Linked DNA regions of Homo sapiens: region 1 is linked to region 2. The links are contacts of gene promoters, found by promoter capture Hi-C in human tissues and cell types (Jung and others, 2019). All regions are on one chromosome and are shown on one strand. The core of a region is centred on a gene start or on the middle of the fragment in contact, and the rest is flanking DNA. Distances in the headings are between cores, read along the strand shown.

Region 1 (3,405 bases), core at 126-2,625, 320 kb after region 2:
TTAAACCTCTTTTCTTCATAAATTACTCACTCTCAGGTAGTTCTTTCTAGCAATGTGAGAATGGACTAATACAGAAAATTGGTACTAGAAGAGTGGGACACTGCTATAAAGATATTTGAAAATGTGGAAGTGACTTTGGAACTGGTAATGAGCAGAGGTTGGAACAGTTTGGAGGACTCAGAAGAAGACAGGAAGATATGTGAAAGCTTGGAACTTCCTAGAGATTTGGTGAATGCTTTTGACCAAAATGCTGATAGTGATATGGAAAATGAAGTCCAGGCTGAGGGTGACATGCTTGGCCATGTGAAGAGACCACCAAACAGGCTTTATGTGAGCAACAAAGCTTTTTAATCACCTGGGTGCAGGTGGACTGAGTCCAAAAAAGGAGTCAGCAAAGGGAGATGGGGTGGGGCAGTTTTATAGGATTTGGGTAGATAGTGGAAAATTACAGTCAAACAGGGGTTTTCTCTTGTGGACAGGGGTGGGGGTTATAGGGTGCTCAGTGGGGAGCTTCTGAGACTCATTGTCCAGGAGAAGGAATGTCACAAGGTCAATTGATCAGTTAGGGTGGGGCAGGAACAAATCACAATGGTGGAATGTCATCAGTTAAGGCCGGAACTGGCTATTTTCACTTCTTTGGTGTTCTTCAGTTGCTTTGGGCCATCTGGATGTATACATGCAGGTCATAGGGGATATGATGCCTTAGCTTGGACTCAGAGGCTTGACAGAGGGTGTCTCAAATGGAGATGAGGAACTTATTAGAAACTGGAGTAAAGGTTACTCTTGCTATGCTTTAGCAGAGACTGGCAGCATTTTGCCCCAGCCCTAGAGATCTGTGTAAGTTTGAACCTGAGAGAGATGATTTAGGGTATCTGATAGAAGAAATTTCTAAGCAGCAAAGCCTTGAAAATGTGACCTGGAGGCTCCTAAAAGCCTATGCTCATTTGCATAAAGAAAGAGATGGTCTGAAATTGGAACTTATATTTAAAAGGGAAGCAGAGCGTAAAAGTTTGGAAAATTTGCAGCCTGACCATTTGATGGAATAGAAAAATCCATTTTCTGGAGAGGAATTCAAGCTCAAGCTGGCTGTAGAAATTTGAATAAGTAAAGAGGAACTGAATGTTAATAGTCAAGACAATGGGGAAATGTCTCTGGGGCATTTCAGAGACCTTTGAGGTAGCACCTCCCATCACTCAGGAGGCCTAGGAGGGAAAAATGGTTTCCTGGGCCAGGCACAAGGCCCTGCTGCTCTCTGCAGCCTCAGGATATGGTGACTTGCATCACAGCCATTCCAGCTCCAGCCATGGCTAAAAGGGGCCAAGGTACAGTTCAGGCCATTGCTTCAGAGAGTGCAAGCCCCAAGCCTTGGTGACTTCCATGTGGTGTTGCAGGGGTGGAGCCCTCATGAAGAACCTCTACTAGGGCAATGTGGAAAGGAAATGTAGGATTGGAGCCCCCACACAGAGTCTTCACTGGGGCACTGCATAGCAGAGCTGTGAGAAGAGGGCCACCATCCTCCAGACCCCAGAATGGTAGATCCACTGACAGCTTGCACTTTGTGCCTGGAAAAGCTACAGGTACTCAGTGCCATCCTGTGCAGAGCCATGGGGTGGAGCTGCCCAAGGCCATGGGCGCCCACCCCCTGCTTGCTTCAGTGTGTCCTGGATGTAAGACATGGAGTCAAATGAAATTATTTCAAAGCTTTAAGATTTGATGGCTGCCCTGCTGAGTTTCAGACTTGCATGGAGCATGTAGCCCATTTGTTTGGCCAATTTCTCCTTTTTGGAATGGGAATATTTACCCAATGCCTGCACCCCCAATGTATCTTGAAGTAACTAACTTGTTTTTTATTTTACAGGCTCATAGATGGAAGAGACTTGCCTTGTCTCAGATGAAACTTTGGACTTGGACTTTCAAGTTAATGCTGGCATGACTTAAGACTTTGGGGGACTGTTGGGAAGGCATAATTGGTTTTGAAATGTGAGAAGGACATGAGATTTGGGAGGGGCCAGGGGTGGAATGATATGGTTTGGATTTGTGTTCTCACCCAAATCACACATTGAAGCAAAGGAGGAACCTAGTGGGAAGTAATTGGATCTTGGGGGCAGAATTCCCCCTTGCAATCATAAGTTCTCACAAGACCTGATGGTTTAATAGTGTGTGGCACTTACCTCTTCTCTTTCTCACTCTCTCTGCTGCCACCATGTGAAGAAGGTGCTTGCTTCCCCTTCACCTTCTGCCATGATTGTAGGTTTCATGAGGGCTCCCAGTCATGCTTTCTGGTATAGTCTGTGGAACTGTGAGTCAATTAAACCTCTTTTCTTCACAAATTACCAAGTCTCAGGTAGTTCTTTCTAGCAGTGTGAGAACAGACTAATATATAGTGTAAGAAACTTACTTACAGAAATATATTTCTATTTCTTATTCCTATTCTCTCTTTTATTCTTGACATACTATTTACTTCTACAAACACCACAATAATTACTAATTTTGCTTTAAGCTGTCAATTTTCTTTTTAAGAAAATTGAGGTAAACTTTACACAAGGAAAGTAACCATTTTAAAGTGAAGAGCTCAGTGGCATTTAATACATTCACAATGTTATGCAACCACAACATCTCTCTAGTTCCAAAACATTTTTATCACCCCAAAAGAAAACTCTGTACTCATTAAGCTGTTATTTTCCATTCCCTACTCTCTCCAGCCTCTGGTAACCACCAGTCAGCTTTTTGTCTCCATGCATTAACCTATTATACATATGTCATATAAATGCACTCATACAATATGTGACATTTTGTATCTGGCTTCTTTCACTTCAGTCATCTTTTGCCAATATTAGAAATGATAACAATTTTATTTGCTCACATATTTACTCATCTCTTCATTGAGTAGTATCACATTTTCTCCTGTTTATTTTTTTCTCAAAGAACCTCCTTTAACATTTCTTGTAATACAGATCTGCTGATGATGCAATCTGTCACCTTTGTTTTATTTATTTTATTATTTTTTAAAATTTTATTATTATTATACTTTAAGTTTTAGGGTACATGTGCACAACGTGCAGGTTTTTTACATATGTATACATGTGCCACGTTGGTGTGCTGCACCCATTAACTCATCATTTTGCATTAGGTATATCTCCTAATGCTATCTCTCCCCCCTCCCCCCACCCCACAACAGTCCCCGGTGTGTGAGGTTCTCCTTCCTGTGTCCATGTGTTCTCATTGTTCAATTCCCACCTATGAGTGAGAACATGCAGTGTTTGGTTTTTTGTCCTTGCAATAGTTTGCTGAGAATGATGGCTGCCAATTTCATCCATGTCCCTACAAAGGACATGAACTCATCATTTTTTACGGCTGCATAGTATTCCATGGTATATATGTGCCACATTTTCTTAATCCAGTCTA
Region 2 (3,425 bases), core at 3-2,502:
AGAAAATAGAATATGCAGTCTTTTAAAATGGTTTTTAGGAAAGGTTTGGGATACCATGGTAAAAGGATAAGTTGTAAAGTTAAGCCAAAACATTATCCTGCCAAAAGCAGGATATAAAATTACATGTGCAATATAATAACAGTGCCTTTTTAAAAAAAACTCTTTAATTTTACACAGAAAATAGATTGAAAAGAAAAAAAAACACTAAAATGTTAAGAGTGAATATCTTTGGATAATGGATGTGCAGATTTTTAAAATTATTACTTTTGGCTGGGTGCAGTGGCTAACACTTGTAATCCCAGCACTTTGGGAGGCTGAGGCAGGCAGATTGCTTGAGCTCAGGAGTTTAAGATGAGCCTGGGCAACATAGCGAAACCCTGTCTCTACAGAAAATACAAAAACTAGCTGGGCGTGGTGGCAAGTGCCTGTAGTCCCAGCTACTCGGGAGGCTGAGGTGGGAGGATCACCAGATCCCAGAAGATTGGGGCTGCAGTGAATCGTGATCGTGCCACTGCACTCCAGCCTGGGCAACAGAGTGACACCCTGTCTCAAAAAATAAATAAATAAGTAAAAAATAAAATTATTACTTTTACTGAATTTCCCAACTTTCAAAACGAATGTTTATTACTTTTATTTTTTCAGCACAATTTCTATTTCACATGAAACATGTATTGCTTTTATCATTTAAAAATTATAACATTATTATTTTAAAAATTACTCTGCGTACAAACCTGGACAACAGAAAGCTATTCTCGTGAACCATCAGAATACACACATGGGTTATTTTTGTCATGTTCATGATTTTCAGCCAATACCATAGCTAGAGTCATTATGTAGAAGCCGTCTCAGAGCTATGGCAGCACAGGTTTTGTTTAGACTAGCAGAATAGATATTAAATATTTCACAGAGTTTTCTACTGGGATCATCAAAGATGCAATATACATGATAACAGTTTTAGAAACTTACCCACATCCCAAAACTAAAAACAAACAAAAAACCCTTGAAAATATTTTGTGTTTTCCTGAAATGTATGTTAAAGCTATCACGAACCCTAAATGAATGATCAAAGCTGATATGGTAGCTAAAGGAACAGTTGCTTGTCAAAAAAAAAAAAAAACAACAACAACTGAGCTCTCCAAACACTTTGTACACCTACCTGGGAGTTTGAACAGAGGCATTGTTGCTGAAATCCTTGATTCTAGGATAGCACAGTAGAAAAGAAGAGAGAGGAGACTGTGGGGTGACTGACTGACACTATAAAATATCCTGACATTCATTTTATTATTTTGCTTTGCCCCCGGAAATTTGATTCTTCTCTGCTAAGTGGAGAGAGATGAGCTTTGGACCTATTTATAGCTTGAGGCATTTGATAGTGAAAAACAGGTGAAGCTTTCAGTCTTTACTTTGGGATTAGAAGATATCTGTGGTGGGCCAAAAATTGCATTTCAATACTCTCTAAATCTTCTTACAGACTGGATCTTTGGCAAGTGTAGGACCACTGATGGTGATATCCCACCCTAGTGAAATACAGTGAAGTCTTTCCGGTTTCTGAAGCTATGATCCTCAGGGTTTCACATCACGCAAACAGCTTTCTGTGGTTGGTGAATATGCTGGTACATTCATCAAGCTCTCAACAGACACACACGCACACGCACACACGCTCAGGAATGCATGTTTTTATTAGTAATGTGTCTGACTTAGCAGAACTTCAGTTGACAGTTTAATGAATTAAGTGTTAAATTTACTTCAAGTCTTTTACAGAAACTCAACTGTCCTCCAGAGTATCCAGTTACCACTTCTCTACCTATTGTTATAATAAGAACAATAGCTTTGTTTTGTATAACATTTTATTGTATGTAAAACATTTGGCAAACATTATCTATTTGATACTAATTACAATCCTGTAAGGCAAGTAATACCTTATCCCTGTTTCCCAAATAAGAAAACTGGGGCTCTGACAGGTATCTTGCTCAAAGTCATTCTGTTCATCATAAATGGCAAAGCCAAGGCTCTCTGGACCCAAATCTCACGCTCTTTCCATAATAACACACAGTCTTAGTTATGACTGTATATATGTGTGTGTATATATATGTATATATGTATATATATGTGTATATACATATATTTTTTTCGAGACAGAGTCTCGCTCTGTTGCCCGGGCTGGAGTGCAGTGGCGCGATCTCGGCTCACTGCAAGCTCTGCCTCCCGGGTTCACGCCATTCTCTTGCCTGAGCCTCCCGAGTAGCTGGGACTACAGGCGCCTGCCACCATGCCCGGCTAATATTTTTTGTATTTTTAGTAGAGATGTGGTTTCACTGTGTTAGCCAGGATGGTCTTGATCTCCTGACCTCATGATCCACCTGCCTTGGCCTCCCAAAGTGCTGGGATTACAGGCGTGAGCCACTGCGCCCGGCCAGTTATGACTAAATATTTGATAGTTGCTGCTAGGTAAAGAAAGTACGCTGCTAGACTCAGCAGAAATTTTAAATTATAACAGCTTATATTGAAGATGAGCTTGGCACTTCAGATTAGCAACAGAATTATGGGCATAGACCAAATGATCTTTTTACTATTAACTATTTCTTTTTGAAAATTGGGACAAGCCTTTTTGTTGGCAAAACTTAACAATATTTTAGTGCTTAGCCTTATGGCCAACCTCTCAATCAACAATATTGCAACACATTACAAAGGTGTTACTGAACCAAAATATTTGTTCATTTCTTTCCAACTCCTTTTTGTTACATTTTTACCTGGATTTCCCAACAGTATCCACAAATTGATACATCCAAACCAAGCATCTTCCTCCATGAACCTGCTTCTCCTTCAGTAATTCCTATCTTTATATAAGTTACACTCCAATTTTCTCATTCCAATTGTGTAAATACCCTAGTTGCCTACCCAAAGATCATTTTCCCTACCTTTCTTACAAACAAAAACTTCTTTGGTTTGAGCATTAATGTGCTCAGCCAAAAAACAGCATTTGCTAGAATCCTTTGTGGCTAGAAGCGGCCATTTGACACAGCCTGGCCAAAGTGATGTAAGCAGAATTGCTGGGTGGGATGTCTCCAAAAGTTCTTTTAAAAGGGACCAGCTCAGCTGGCATATGTTTTGCCTTTTGCCCTTCCTCTTCTTCCTGCCTGAAAAAGGAAATATGTGGATAGGGGCCTCCAAACCAACCATTGTTTTAACACAAATGGTGAGCAGGACAAGAGCCACATGAAGACTATCTGAACAGAAACAAATAATTAGGGTCCCTGATGGCATCCTAAAGCCACCATATTAGTCCAGGACTTCCCATATTTAGAATTCTTGTTTAATTAAGGAATTTTTTTAAGAGACAGGGTCTCACTATGTTGCTCAGGCCAGGGTGTAGTGGTTATTGACAGGAGTGATCCTACTACTAAAATCAGCACAGGAGTTTTGAC

Evidence for each region. Contacts are between HindIII fragments. The study calls those that stand out against the background at their distance.
Region 1: a fragment that was not itself captured here is called in contact with the fragment with the promoter of AMPD1 in region 2 in 1 of the 25 tissues and cell types used here (H1 embryonic stem cells).

Annotation. Positions count from the first base shown.
Region 1 is chr1:115,011,041-115,014,445 of GRCh38, forward strand. No RefSeq gene overlaps it. Among named protein-coding and RNA genes, the nearest start is that of TSHB, 17 kb to the right of the region's middle. The HindIII fragment of the contact is 4,334 bases long and covers 1-3,405 here.
Region 2 is chr1:114,694,294-114,697,718 of GRCh38, forward strand. It overlaps AMPD1 (adenosine monophosphate deaminase 1), which reads right to left and starts at 1,253. Exons shown (of 16, transcript NM_000036.3): 1 at 1,157-1,253. The coding sequence starts at 1,178. It also overlaps the pseudogene RN7SL432P. The HindIII fragment of the contact is 10,350 bases long and covers 1-3,425 here.